2 separate regions of the Homo sapiens genome follow, and region 2 is linked to region 1. Evidence: promoter capture Hi-C in human tissues and cell types (Jung and others, 2019). All regions are on one chromosome and are shown on one strand. Each heading gives the region's core, a stretch centred on a gene start or on the middle of the fragment in contact. The rest is flanking DNA. Distances are from core to core; before and after follow the strand shown.

Region 1 (6,955 bases), core at 1,251-3,750:
CCTCTGGCTCTGCCTGTGGTGGGCTCCTGCCCCGCTCCAAGCTCCTGGGAGCCTCTGGCTCTGCCTACGGTGGGCTCCTGCCCCACTCCAAGCTCCTGGGAACCTCTGGCTCTGCCTACGGTGGGCTCCTGCCCTGCTCCAAGCTCCTGGGAGCCTCTGGCTCTGCCTGTGGTGGGCTCCTGCGCTACTCCAAGCTCCTGGGAGCCTCTGGCTCTGCCTACGGTGGGCTCCTGCCCTACTCCAAGCTCCTGGGAGCCTCTGGCTCTGCCTGTGGTGGGCTCCTGCCCCACTCCAAGCTCCTGGGAACCTCTGGTTCTGCCTATGGTGGGCTCCTGCCCTACTCCAAGCTCCTGCCTCGAGTATCCTTACTTTGGGCAGAGCTCGAACTTGGAGAGTCCCGGGGGTGGGGAACGGTGCTCCCAGGGCAGGGCCTGGTCGAAGGCCACCATCTGTGCGTGCTCCGAGGATGCGCAGTGGTTCTCGAAGGCCTCCTGAGAGTGGCAGGTGACCAAGCAGGCCGGGCAGTACAGCTGGGCCCCAGGGGGCTGGCCAAGGGGGGCCGTGCGCCCGTCGCCATCAGGGGCAGGGGGTGTGAGCAGGTCCCCCCGCTGGAGGCCACCCAGCTGCTCGGCCTCCCACACAGCCATCTCCACGGCGCTGTGTGCAAACTGGCAGCGGGACTCCCCACGCCAGCACGGCTGCCCACGCCCCACAAACCTGCAGTAGGCAGGAGGCTGGCCGGCCCGGGGCCGCGGCCTCACCACCACAAACTGTTGCTTGCGGCGGCCCTCGGCGCTCACGTGGGCCAGGAGGGAGGGGCAGGCTCCGTGCTCAGGGCACTGCCCCTGGGGGTCCACGCGACAGATGCATGGGGGACAGCGCCTGAAGCAGAGGGAGCAAAGCAGCTCGAAGCGGCCGCCAAACTCCGTAAGGATGGCGTCGGCCGCCCGGCCTGCCCCTCCCTGGGCCCCGCTGCCCTGCACCTCCGCCTTCAGCCATAGGCGCTGGAGGTTGTGCTGACGCTCGAAGGTCCAGACCAGGGCCTCCTCGCGACTGCGGGCAAAGGTGCACCGGTTTCGGTGGCGCCGGCAGCCGAGCCCAGGGCTGTAGTAGTGGCAGACTTGGTAGCACAGGGGCCTTGGGAAGGTGGGCCGGCAGCCCACCACGCGCCAGACCTTGCTCTTGGTGGCCTGCTTAAAGCGGGCCAGCAGGATCTCGCGGGAGCAGTCATGCTCCACCCTACGGAGGACGTAGGTGCTTTCATTGAGCCGCTGGGTGCAGCGGGAGCAGCCCAGACACAGGTCCACCAGGGCACACAGCCGGGCCAGGGACGGCCCTCTGGTGGCCGCGGGGCTGTTGGGCAGCAGGGTGGACCCTGGAGGCGCCACCTCGAACACCAGCTTGGCTCTCCAGGGAGGCGTCTGAGGCTCCTGAGCTCACGGGTCCACGCAGTCCACTGGAACTGTTGGCCACGGTTCGAAGCCTGCGACAGAAGGAGCAGGTGAGACTGAGGCCAGAGGACATCTGGTCCAGGCCCAGCTCAGAAGCACGGCCTCTCCACCAGGCAAGGAGCTGGGGATCTGCCTATCCTGATGCCCAAGCAGAGGCCTCTCCACCAAGCAAGGAGTTGGGACTCTCCCCACCCTGACGCCCAAGTGGAGGCCTTGGCAGTAGCTGTGTCCTGTCAGGGAGTACAGGGCTCACTGACCCGGACACAGCCAGACCCTCCCTCCTGAAGGGTCTCAGGCCCCACCTAGAAGGAGCCAAGGTGACTGCTTGTGGAGCCCTGGAGGGGGCAGAGCCCTTGGCACAGTGCCGCCCCCAGGAGGCCGCACCCCTCTGCCCCAGCCAGGGGTCCTGTGCACCCCAGGGCCTCAGGCTCCTGACTCTTCTAAGGACACAGCACCTCCTTTTCTATTGAATGACCACTGGCCCCCAGGAAAAGAGGACTCCACATCTGCACCTGGGGAGGGGCCTCACGGAGAGGAGGGTACAGTGCCCACCAGAGCTCAGGGTGCCAGGAAGAGATGGGTCCCCGGGTCCCCACCGCAGCTGGGATGCTACAAGAAGAGTAAGTTTAAAAGCAACAGACTGGAGGCAGACTTCAGTATGAGAACCCGGCACTCCCCGCGGACCCCTCTGAGAAAACATCCGAGTCTGCCATCCAGAAAGGACGGGAGCCGAGACCCCAAAATCCTGCGCTCCAGTGGGTGCAGAGACCACAGCGCTGGGTCTTGCTGCGGAGGGTGCTGGTCCTGGACGGGCTGCACTGCCCCGGGCTGGGTCTGTGGCTCCCGGGACTCCGCGCCCCCGGCTGCACTCACCCTCCCGGACCCCCCCCTCCGCCCCCGGCCCCGCCACCCTGGGACCCCCGCGCTCACCCTCCTGGAGCCGCCCCTGGACCCCCGCGCCCCCGCCCCTCCGCCCTGGGACCCCCGCGCTCACCCTCCTGGAGCTGCCTGCCCTGCCGAGCCTGCCCAGGAGCTCTCAGTTTCGATTCTGGCCCGGGCACTGACGCTGATCGCGGAAATTACCTCACCGCCCCCCGCCCCGCCCCGCCCTGCCCCGCCTCCAGCGACAGCTCGGCCCCCGCTGCGAGGGAACCTCGGGAAGCGCCAGCGAGCAGAGGACGCCCCTCCCTGAAGGGCCAGCGCCGTCGAAGGCGGAGGCGGCTGGGGGTGGGGGTCCTTTCCCGCACCCCTCCAGGGCCCCACGCCCCGTCCAGCCCTTCACACACCAGAGACGCCCCGATGATGTGCCAGGCGGAAGGGGTGAGACCCTGCCCGGCCCTGGACGGCAGGATGGTCTGGTGACTCCACCATCAGCCCCTGGAGAAATCCAGGCACAGCTGACCTGGAAGCCTGGGTCCCCTGACAGGCAGGACCTGCCCGTGGCCCTGGTGCTGCTGGGACCCCAAGTCCCTTCTGTCACCAACCAGGATATGGCAGGAATGGCTAAGTGGCCGCCGGGTCCCAGAGTCAGCACGCCTGGCTCTTGGCTCTCTGGACTGGCTCTGGGCCCTCAGCAGCCCTGTGGGGAGGCCCCATAGAGGAGCTGAGGCCTCCAGCCCACTTGCAGCTCGAGTCCCAGCCCCAGCCTTACTGCCATCTCAGGGAGACCCCAGGCCTAACCCTCCCACCTAGACCACGCCCAGCTGTTAGATGTCTATGTTTAAAATAAACGTCCCATTAGCCAGGGGTGGGGGCGGGCGCCTGTAGTCCCAGTTACTCGGGAGGCTGAGGCAGAAGCATTGCTTGAACCAAGGAAGTGGAGGTTGCAGTGCGCCAAGATTGCGCCACTGCACTCCAGCCTGGGCAACAGAGCAAGACTCCATCTCAAAACAAATAAATAAATAAAATAAACATCTGTGTTGTTTTAAGCCCCTGAGCTTTGGGGCGATCTGTTCTGCAGCAGTAGATAACGGACAGTGATGCTGCCCCTGAAACAAGGAAGCAAGGCTGCCACCCAAGGCCAGCACCTCGTGGGGAGGGCCAGGCTGGGGGCTCACAGCGACCTCGGGAGGTCGGCTGGGTGGGCCGTCAACCACCAGGGAGCCTCTCCGCAGACCAATCACGTTGGAGCTCCTGGGAGAGGGCAGGCCCTCGACAATAGCAGCCCCAGGGGCCGGGCGCTGAGCAGGGTCCATGTGCGTGGAACGCTGGGAGAATTTGTGTGGAACGCTGTGTTCCTGGATGGAGAGGCTCAACACCACACAAAGACGTGAGTTCCTCCTAAACTAACCTGCAGTCGCATGGTGGACACACTGACTTTCAAGTCCATTTGGAAAAGCATCACATCACCAAGAAAGGCTGGACAGGGCTTTTTTTTTTTTTGAGACTGAGTCTCCTTCCATTGCCCCGGCGGGAGTGCAGTGATGCAATCACAGTTCACTGCAGCCTCGACCTCTGGCTCAGACAGTCTTCCCCCCTCAGCCTCCTGAGTCGCTGGGACTACAGGCACACACCACCACAGTACAGGTGCACACCACCACAGTTAACTATTTTGGAGTTTTTTCTATGTTTTTCAGAGATGGGGTTTCTCAATGTTGCCCAGGCTGCTCTTGAACTCCTGGGCTCAAGCAAACCCCCCACCTCGGCCTCCTTGAGTGCCGGGATTAGATTACAGGCTTGAATCCCAACACCCAGCCCAGGATGATGACTAAAAAGGATTCCCAGCGGGTGCTGGCATGACTTACTAAACACATAACACACTGCAAAGCCACTGAACCCGGTGTGGACACACAGTTCCAAGGCAGAACAGAGAGTCCAGAAATAGAGTCACACTCAGGAGTCTGGGGTGGGATGAAAGATTGGCTCTCGGCCAGGCGCACTGGCTCACGCCTGTAATCCCAGCACTTTGGGAGGCCAAGGTGGGCAGATCACCTGAGGTCAGGAGTTCGAGACCAGCCTGGCCAACATAGTGAAACCCCATCTCTTCTAAAAATACAAAAAAAAAAAAAAAAAATAGCTGGGCGTGGTGGCAGGTGCCTGTAGTCCCAGCTACTCAGGAGGCTGAGGCAGGAGAATCCCTTGAACCTGGGGTCGGGGGGGGCGAGGCGGAGGTTGCAGTAAGCTGAGATCACACCATTGCACTCCAGCCTGGGAGACGGAACGAGACTCTGTCTCAAAAAAAAAAAAAAAGAAAGAAAAGAAAAGAAAAGAAAGCTTGGCTCTCACACCTCAGGGAAAAACAATTCATTGATGCATTCCACAAATTATTAGAACAACTGATTAGCAGCATCTGGAAACAAAAATGGGAGGGACGGTCTCTGCGTAGCATCTTACACCATATGAAATAATCAAACACTCTCACGGAAGGAAAAGCCAACCACAGAGGCACTAGGAGAAACCAGGGCTGAAAGTGTCTGATTCTCAGGACTCTTGGGATGTGAAAGGCCTTTCTAGGTGAAATCCAGCCCTGCGCCACTCGCCCCCAGCCAGGCTCAAGGACAGGGCTGGTGGCTTCACACATGCCGTGAGGGGCAAGCATACACCCCAGAAATCCACAAAACCTGTCTCCTGAAGCACTGTTTTTTTCTTCTTAGAGAACGAATTAAACATCTACCAGCACAACAGTGATAAATTCAATGACACAAAACAATTTCACATGGAAAAAAACACCACCATCAAAGGAGTCAAAAACCAAACATGAACAGAAAACAAAATTGCAGCTTATGTCACAGTGAAAAGTCTGATCGCTCTGATATATATTTTTTTTTCTTGAGACGGAGTCTCACTCTTGTCACCCAGGCTGGAGTGCAGTGGCACAATCTCGGCAAGCTCCACCTCCCGGGTTCACGCCATTCTCCTGCCTCAGTCTCCCAAGTAGCTGGGACTACAGGCGCCCACCACCACGCCTGGCTAATTTTTTGCATTTTTAGTAGAGACGGGGTTTCACCGTGTTAGCTAGGATGGTCTCGATCTCCTGACCTCGTGATCCACCCACCTCGGCCTCCCAAAGTGCTGAGATTACAGGCGTGAGCCACCGCGCCTGGCCCTGATCTCTCTAATATTTTAAAGATCTTATAAATTAAGAAAAAGATGTATAATTTAAAAGAAAAATAGGCAAAGGATGCAAATCAATACTTCACAAAACGTGGAAAGTGAAATTGCTGTAAATGGAGTGAAGTGTTCAACCTCGGCGTAAGGGAAACGCAAACCAGCCCCAGACAACCCGTCCACCCCTCTGACATTGCAGGCACTCGGCCAGAGTCTAAACTGGCAGCACCGCTCTGGAAACCAGCCAGGCCCGGGAGCACAGGACACGCGCCTTCCACGTGGCTCCACAGAGGCTCCTGCACAGAGGGACATCTGTGCCCACCAACAGCTCCCGGCAGCTCCTTCTACACCCAATGGACCGGGAATGCCCAGGGCCCCTCGCTCAGGGTCTATGTAATGGGCAGTCTCCACCCTGTGCCATGGAAGACTCTAAGGCCATTAAAAATGAGGTTGGCCAGGCACGGTGGCTCACACCTGTGATCCCAGCAATTTGGTAGGCTGAGGCGGGAGGATCACTTGAGCCCAGGAGTTCAAGACCTCAGTAAGCTGTGATGGTGCCAGTGCACTCCAGCCTGGGAGACAGATCAGGACTGTGCGGCCAGGACAGGAGGGAGATGTCCTGTTTCCGCCCACCTTTCACATCTGTGCACGTCTTCTTAACTCAAAACAAAAACAAAAAGTGCCACCTCGAGTCCACAGAGCATTGAAAACCTGCAGGTTGCCGTGGACAGCTCTCTGGCTCCCGTCCAGCTGTGCTCAGGCCACAGTGACCCCTAACACGGGCTGAGTGTGAGACCACGGGAGAGAGTTCCACGTACACACAGCACACGGCCAACACGCTCACACGGGCTGAGTGTGACACCACGGGACAGAGTTCCACGTACACACAGCACACGGCCAACAACACGCTCACACGGGCTGAGTGTGAGACCACGGGACAGAGTTCCACGTACACACAGCACACGGCCAACAACACGCTCACACGGGCTGAGTGTGAGACCACGGGAGAGAGTTCCACGTACACACAGCACACGGCCAACAACACGCTCACACGGGCTGAGTATTAGTAATATTATTGTATCCACGTCAGCTTCCTGACTTTGTAACAGACAGCTTCCACGTTCTGAGGAAACACACCTTGAAGTGATGGGGTAAAGGGTGAAGGGTGAAGGGTGAAGGGGTATCGTATCTGAAAGGTGAAGGGGTATCGTGTCTTAGTCTCAATTGCCTGGAACTACAGGCTTCTACAGAACCGGCAAATGGGCCAGAACAAAGCGACTGGTGAGTCCGCATAGAGCACAGGGAGTCCTTTGTTCTATTTTTGCAACATTTGTGTACGTTTGTTTAAATTATTATATCAAAATACAAAGTAAGAAATGTCTGCCCAACACCCTCAGCTTGTCTCATCCCGGTCCCTAGGTCCTCCTCACCCAGCGTCCCTGCCAGTGGGTTCCATG
Region 2 (6,955 bases), core at 2,046-4,545, 350 kb after region 1:
CAGGATGCGGAGTGCTTGCAGAGCTTGCTGATGGGTTTGTGAGTATGCAGAAAAGGTTAAAGTGGGCATGACAGTGTAGAAAACCAATTATAAGAGGCCGGGCACGGTGGCTCACGCCTGTAATCCCAGCACTTTAGGAGGCTGAGGCAGACGGATCACAAGGTCAGGAGTTCAAGACCATCCTGGTCAATGTGGTGAAACCCCATCTCTACTAAAAATACAAAAATTACCTGGGCGTGGTTCGCGTGCCTGTAGTCCCAGTGACTTGGGAGGCTGAAGCAGAAGAATCGCTTGAACCCGGGAGGCAGAGATTGCAGTGAACTGAGGTCACACCACTGCACTCCAGCCTGGGCAAACAGAGCGAGACTCCACCTCAAAAATAAAAATTAGGAAAGGGTAGGTATGTGTAAAATAGGTGAAGGATGGGGATCAATCAGAGGAAAGTGTGGCAAACAGGAAGGCAAGTTCTTCATCTAGTCTGAGGATTTAACTTGTAGCTCAGCTGTCAGGCTTTAAACTGTCTTTGGCTTGGAGGTGGGTTTCACCGGGAACCCGCCCCATCTGCCTGGCATTCAGCTGCCTCCTGCCAGTATCACCGAGATCGCGTCACCGCACTCCAGCCTGGGCAACAAAGCGAGACTATCTCAAAACCCCATATTGATGTCATTTCCTAAATATTTGGTTAAAAAAAAAATCTGGGCCTGGAATTTTATCTGGTTTTTTTTTTTTTTTTTTTTGAGACGGAGTCTCGCTGTGTCGCCCAGGCTGGAGTGCAGTGGTGCGATCTCTGCTCACTGCAAGCTCCGCCTTCCGGGTTAACGTCATTCTCCTGCCTCAGCCTCCCGAGTAGCTGGGACTACAGGTGCCTGCCACCACTTCCGGCTAATTTTTTTGTATTTTTATTAGAGATGGGGTTTCACTGTGTTAGCCAGGATGGTCTCAATCTCCTGATCTCGTGATCTGCCCGCCTTGGCCTCCCAAAGTGCTGGGATTACAGGCGTGAGCCACGGCGCCTGGCCTTCTGGGGATTTTTTATTACAAATATAACTTTATTAACAGATGCAGGCCTATTCAGATTTTCTATTTCATGTCAGTCTTGGTAAATTGTAATTTTCAAGATATTTGTCCATTTCATCTAATTTTTCTAATTTCTTGGCATGAAGTTGTTCGTATTTTATCCTTTTCACGCCTCTAGGATCTGTAGTGATGTCTTTCCTCATGTTGCTCAAAGAACCAACTCTTTTGGCTTTGTTGAAGTTATCTGTTTGTTTTCATGGATTTCTGTTCCTTATGATTTCCTTGCTTGCATTTATGTTGGGTTTATCCTGTTACTTTGTAGCTTCCTGAGGCGGAGCCTTAGGCCTTGATTAACGTGTTGTACTAGTCAGCATTCTGCAGAGGAACGTTGCCATTATCTGTGTCTCTTTCTAAAGGAGATTTGTTATGAGGAATTGGCCCACGTCATTATGGAGACGGAATCTCATGCTCTGCCATTTGCTGAAGATTGAGGAAAGCAGTGGGATAATAACAGTCCAAGGACAGGAGGAGACACGTGGCCCCGCTCAGGCTGGCAGGCGAGAAGGAAAACCCAGGCCAACTCCTCCTCCCACCCCTTTCTATTCGGGACCCCCGTGGACTGGGACGACACTCACCTGCACAGGGCAGCGCAGTTGGCTTCATGGAGCCCCCAGCTCAGGTGCTGCTCTTACCAAGAAACACCCTCCCAGGCACACCCTGAAGTCATGTTTCATCTGGGTGCCCCACGATGCAGCAAAGGAGACATGAAATTAACCGTCATGTACACTGTATTTATTATTCAATTCAAAACATTTTCTAAGTTCCCCTGGGATTTCTTCTTTGAGCTACATGTTAGCCGGAGGTGTGTTGTTGAATATCAAGAGTATCTTCCTCCTGGGTTTCCAGTTTGTAGCTAAGTCAGGGATAGTGCTGTGTGTGACCTCATTCCATTACGTTTATTGAAACCAGCTTGAAGCCCTAACATGTGGCTTGTCTTAGTGTACAGCATTCAGTTAAAAACAATGTGTGTTCTCTAGATGTTGGGTGTTCTGTGACTGTCACGTCATGGTGGTTGATTAGTTAGAAACAATGTAGAAACAATGTGTATTTGCCAGGCGCTGTGGCTCACACCTATAACCCCAGCACTGTGGGAGGCTGAGGCAGGCGGATCACCTGAGGTCGGGAGTTCAGCCTGAGGTCGGGAATTCAAGACCAGCCTGGCCAACATGGAGAAACCCCATCTCTACTAAAAATACCAAAATTAGCTGGGTGTGGTGGCACATGCCTGTAATCCCAGCTACTCCTGTGTGAGGCTGAGGCAGGAGCATTGCTTGAACCGGGGAGGCGGAGGTTGTGGTGAGCCGAGATCGTGCCATTGCACTCCAGCCTGGGCAACAAGAGCAAAACTGTCCCCCCCCCCAAAAAAGAAAGAAAGAAACTGTGTGTTCTCTAGATGTTGGGTGTTCTGTGAAGATCAGGTCATGGTGGTTGATAGTGTTGTTCAGAACATCGATGTTTTTCCTGATTTTTGGTCTGTTCTGTCGATTTCTGAGAAAGTATTAAAATTAAAGTTGGGTCTTGCATTTTTATCCATTCTGTCAGTCCCTTACTTTAATTGGAGTTTTTTGTCCACTAACATTGAATTTAATTGTTGATATGTTTGGATTTAGATCTTCCAACTAATTTTCTATTTGTTTCCTGTGTTGAGTTACTTTTTCATTTTTCTTGTAACTTTTTAGCTTATACCTCTTTGCATTTTTTATGCAGAGGTTGCTGTAAGGATTACAATATGCATGTTTATTTTAATTAATTAATTTATTTTGTTTATTTATATATTTGTTTTTAAGGAACAGGGTCCCTGTCTCCTGGGCTCCAGTGCAGTGGAGTGATCATAGCTCACTGCAGCCTCAAACTCCTGGGCTCAAGCGGTCCTCCCGCCTCAGCCTCCCAAAATGCTGGGACTACAGGTGTGAGCCCCTGTGCCGGCCCACAGTACACAGCTGCAGTTCTTCAGGATCTCTTGGGGTGGCCGTATTCTGCCGTCTCACACTTCTCCATGCCATGGCGTCTGTCTGTGCACGTGGCAAACTCCACAAGGCAGTGTTGGATTCTTTTGCTTTGAACGGTCTTATGGAATAAAGTCCATCAGCTCTGCCCTTGGTACTTTCATCTATACTTTGTGATACTTTCTTTTTATTTTTTCTTCTAGAATAGCCTAACATGGCAGACCAGAGACAGCGCTCACTGTCTACCTCTGGGGAGTCATTGTACCACGTCCTTGGGTTGGACAAGAACGCAACCTCAGATGACATTAAAAAGTCCTATCGGTAAGTGGACAAGTGTGGCCCCCACATCCCCCCAGGAAGACACACATGCCCCGTGTGGTTTAGTCTGCATTTTACCAAGAACCATTGCACATACTTTATCCTGGCCGACTCAGCGTTGAACTGGTCACAGCTCGGTAACACCTTTGTATGTGTAATGTGCTCCTTATAGCTTAAAGTTATGGTATTCATGTTCTCTTGCCAACAAAAAATAGCACTTAGTAGAAACTGACACACTGTCCACAGTTCCATAGGGAGTCAGGGTCTGAACCTGTTTGAGGCCTCACAGGAGCCGCAGAGCGCTGGCATGGTCCTGTGGTCTCCTTGTTTTAGCACAGTGATGACAGAGACCCCTCACTCTGTTGTGGCCTTCTGATTGAGCTTGAAGAACTGCACTCTTGGGTACAGTTTCATTGAGTAACCTGTAAGAGACACCATCACTAATCCAGACAATTCAGATAGTCCTCCTCTCGTGTGCTAGCATCGTGTAGTTCATAAAACACTTCTTAAAGTGCCATCATTACGCCCCGCCGTGCTTACCGTTCACTTGGCACTTGTGCAGTTAGCGGCTGGGACACCAGGGCTGGCCTTGGTGCCGCTGAACTTAGATGTGCCGTGGCACTCACAGCCCTTGGGGCTCCCTCCTCTGAGGCTGGGTCAGGGTGAGGAGGTTTACCTGAAACAACCGCGGAGCTTGCTTTTGTCCCTGGCCCCTGCAGCCCTGGAGAGTCGGACAGTGAGGTGGCCTGGGTGGACCTGCCTTCCACTGCACCCGGCAGTGCGTGCGGGTGGGATGGACGCGGCGGCGGGTGCGGGTGGAACAAAGTCCAGGGTAGAGCCAGGACATGGTTTTGGTTTGCAGGAAGCTTGCCTTGAAATATCACCCCGACAAGAACCCCGACAACCCGGAGGCCGCGGACAAGTTTAAGGAGATCAACAACGCGCACGCCATCCTCACGGACGCCACAAAAAGGAACATCTACGACAAGTACGGCTCGCTGGGTCTCTACGTGGCCGAGCAGTTTGGGGAAGAGAACGTGAACACCTACTTCGTGCTGTCCAGCTGGTGGGCCAAGGTGAGGGCGAGCTGCCTGCCGTGCGGGCACCCGAGTCACTCCTGCCGTGCGGGCACCCGAGTCTCTCCTGCCGTGCGGGCACCCGAGTCACTCCTGCCGTGCGGGCACCCGAGTCTCTCCTGCCGTGCGGGCACCCGAGTCTCTCCTGCCGTGCGGGCACCCGAGTCACTCCTGCCGTGCGGGCGCCCGAGTCACTCCTGCCGTGCGGGCACCCGAGTCTCTCCTGCCATGTGGGCACCCGGGTCACTCCACGCCTGCAGGGTTCCCAGCATTGCAGAGCCCATGCGTTGATGCCAGCAACTCTACACTCCTGAGAAAAGGCTTCTGGGCATATGGAGCCTTTCTCCTCACCTGTGTGATGGGCGAAGCTCTGTCACTGGCTTGGTGTCCTGCCTGGAACAAGCCATAGCGTACAGATTGTCCCAGGGAAGAGCCGTGCGGAGCCGCCAGGGTTTCTTCTGTAAATGGCTCCCAGTCCTTCGTGAGACAGGAGGAAATAAGCCTCGATGTTACATCCGCATTTCTTCGTTTCCTCGTTTTGTTCCAAATGTCATATATGAGGCCAGAGGGTTGGAATCACTGCATGGCATTTGTGAGAAGCCTGTATTTGGCTTTGACTGGTCGGCCTCCTCACTAGAATCCTTATAAAGTACTTTTTATTTAGTTAATGTTAGACAGAGTCTCGCTCTGTTGCCCAGACTGGAGTGCTGTGGTGAGATCCTGGCTCACTTTAACTTTGAATTCCTGGGTTCAAGTGATCCTCCCACTTCAGCTCCAGAACTGCAGGAGTTGAGGCGTGAACCACTGTGCCCAGCCTGGAGGCTGCTTTGTTTTTTTTTTGAGACGGAGTCTCGCTCTGTTTCCCAGGCTGGAGTGCAGTGGCGCGATCTTGGCTCACTGCAAGCTCCACCTCCCGGGTTCACGCCATTCTCCTGCCTCTGCCTCCCGAGTGGCTGGGACTACAGGTGCCCGCCACCACGTCCAGCTAATTTTTTGTATTTTTAGTAGAGACAGGGTTTCACCGTGTTAGCCAGGATGGTCTCGATCTCCTGACCTCGTGATCCGCCAGCCTCGGCCTCCTGGAGTGCTGGGATGACAGGCATGGGCCACCACGCCCGTCTTGGAGGCTGCTTTTCTTTAAGCTGCGGGTTTCTTTCTGTCTCTCCTCCTCCCTTCTTCAGTTCTTTCCTTCTGCTTCCTGTCTGGAAGGCAGTATCCCCACCTGGAACGCACCCCCTGCCTTCTGCTGAGGGCATTTGGGAGTCCTGCGCCTCCCTCTCCAGGGGCCTCGGAGGCCATGCAACACCACCTTCTTCTCCCCCCAGGCCCTGTTTGTCTTCTGCGGCCTCCTCACGTGCTGCTACTGCTGCTGCTGTCTGTGCTGCTGCTTCAACTGCTGCTGCGGGAAGTGTAAGCCCAAGGCGCCTGAAGGCGAGGAGACGGAGTTCTACGTGTCCCCCGAGGATCTGGAGGCACAGCTGCAGTCTGACGAGAGGGGTGAGTGCCCGCCCCAGGGCCCGTGTGTGTGTGTGGGGCAGAGCCAGAATGGGCCCTGAATGGTGTCAACCTGTCTTGTCAAACAGGAGGGCACTGACACTGTGCCGCGAGTGTTTGTGGTGGCAGCTGGGACTGTTGAGGTGTGAACGTGGACCCTGAGGTAAAGCAGGCGCATAGAGCTGTCCCCGCCGTGACCTGCGGTAGCCGTAGATCCCAGGGACTGCGAGGCGGGGCAGGGCGGCAGGCAGTTGGGGCGGGGCTGAGGGCCGAGGGCTGGCGGTGACCCAAGGCGACGGAGGAAAGCCGTGTGGGGTGGAGGTCAGCGAGTAGCCTCTCCCGGTGGAGAGTTTGTCCAGGTGCCCGAAAGTCGCTCCACAGGACCAGCGTTGGGTGCGCGCCAGGCTGTGGCCCTCGTGCAGTGCCCTGTGTGCTTGCTTTTCAGAGGCCACAGACACGCCGATCGTCATACAGCCGGCATCCGCCACCGAGACCACCCAGCTCACAGCCGACTCCCACCCCAGCTACCACACTGACGGGTTCAACTAAATCCAGGAGGAGCTGTGGTCAGAGGAGGAGCCGGCGCCTGGCCACGCCAACCTTAGAATCATGAACTGTAGTCACAGAGATGGGAAGGCAGCCTCCTGCCTGCCCTGGCCTTGCTGGGGCCCCTCCTGCCTCCACGCCCACCCAGCGTCGACCCTTGACCCACGAAGTGCGTAGCATGCAGTATTTAAAGCAGTGTAGCTACGGTCTTCTGTTTTTTTCCCTTTTTTAATAGCATGTATGGGGTTCTGTTCCATGTCTGTGTTGTGGACATTCCGCGGCATGACCGCGTGAACTGCACGGTGGAGCTGCCTCAGGGCTGTCGGTCAGGTTGGTCCAGTGAGGGGTGACTGCAGCCGGTCAGGTGGGCGAGGAGAAGGGGGGCTGCCCCTTTCCTACCTGTGCTTGAGGGGCCGGAGGCAGGTGCTGCCTGGCAGAGCTGTGTTACCGTCTTGGCCTCGGGGTCTGGTCCACACTCTGTGCTCCCAGCCTTGAGGC

Evidence for each region. The method cuts DNA at HindIII sites, captures the fragments that hold promoters and counts their contacts. A contact is called where the count stands out against the background at its distance.
Region 2: a contact is called between a fragment that was not itself captured here and the fragment with the promoter of HELZ2 in region 1, in 1 of the 25 tissues and cell types used here (pancreas).

The regions. Positions count from the first base shown.
Region 1 is chr20:63,571,739-63,578,693 of GRCh38, forward strand. It overlaps HELZ2 (helicase with zinc finger 2), which reads right to left and starts at 2,501. Exons shown (of 20, transcript NM_001037335.2): 1 at 2,446-2,501; 2 at 370-1,483. The coding sequence starts at 647. RefSeq lists silencers at 1,846-1,905, 2,546-2,825, 3,935-4,120 and an enhancer at 2,610-3,337. The HindIII fragment of the contact is 13,109 bases long and covers 1-6,955 here.
Region 2 is chr20:63,925,109-63,932,063 of GRCh38, forward strand. DNAJC5 (DnaJ heat shock protein family (Hsp40) member C5) reads left to right here. Exons shown (of 5, transcript NM_025219.3): 2 at 3,227-3,344; 3 at 4,204-4,417; 4 at 5,743-5,914; 5 at 6,357-6,955. The coding sequence starts at 3,238. The coding sequence ends at 6,460. Among named protein-coding and RNA genes, the nearest start is that of MIR941-5, 8.7 kb to the left of the region's middle. The HindIII fragment of the contact is 6,255 bases long and covers 169-6,423 here.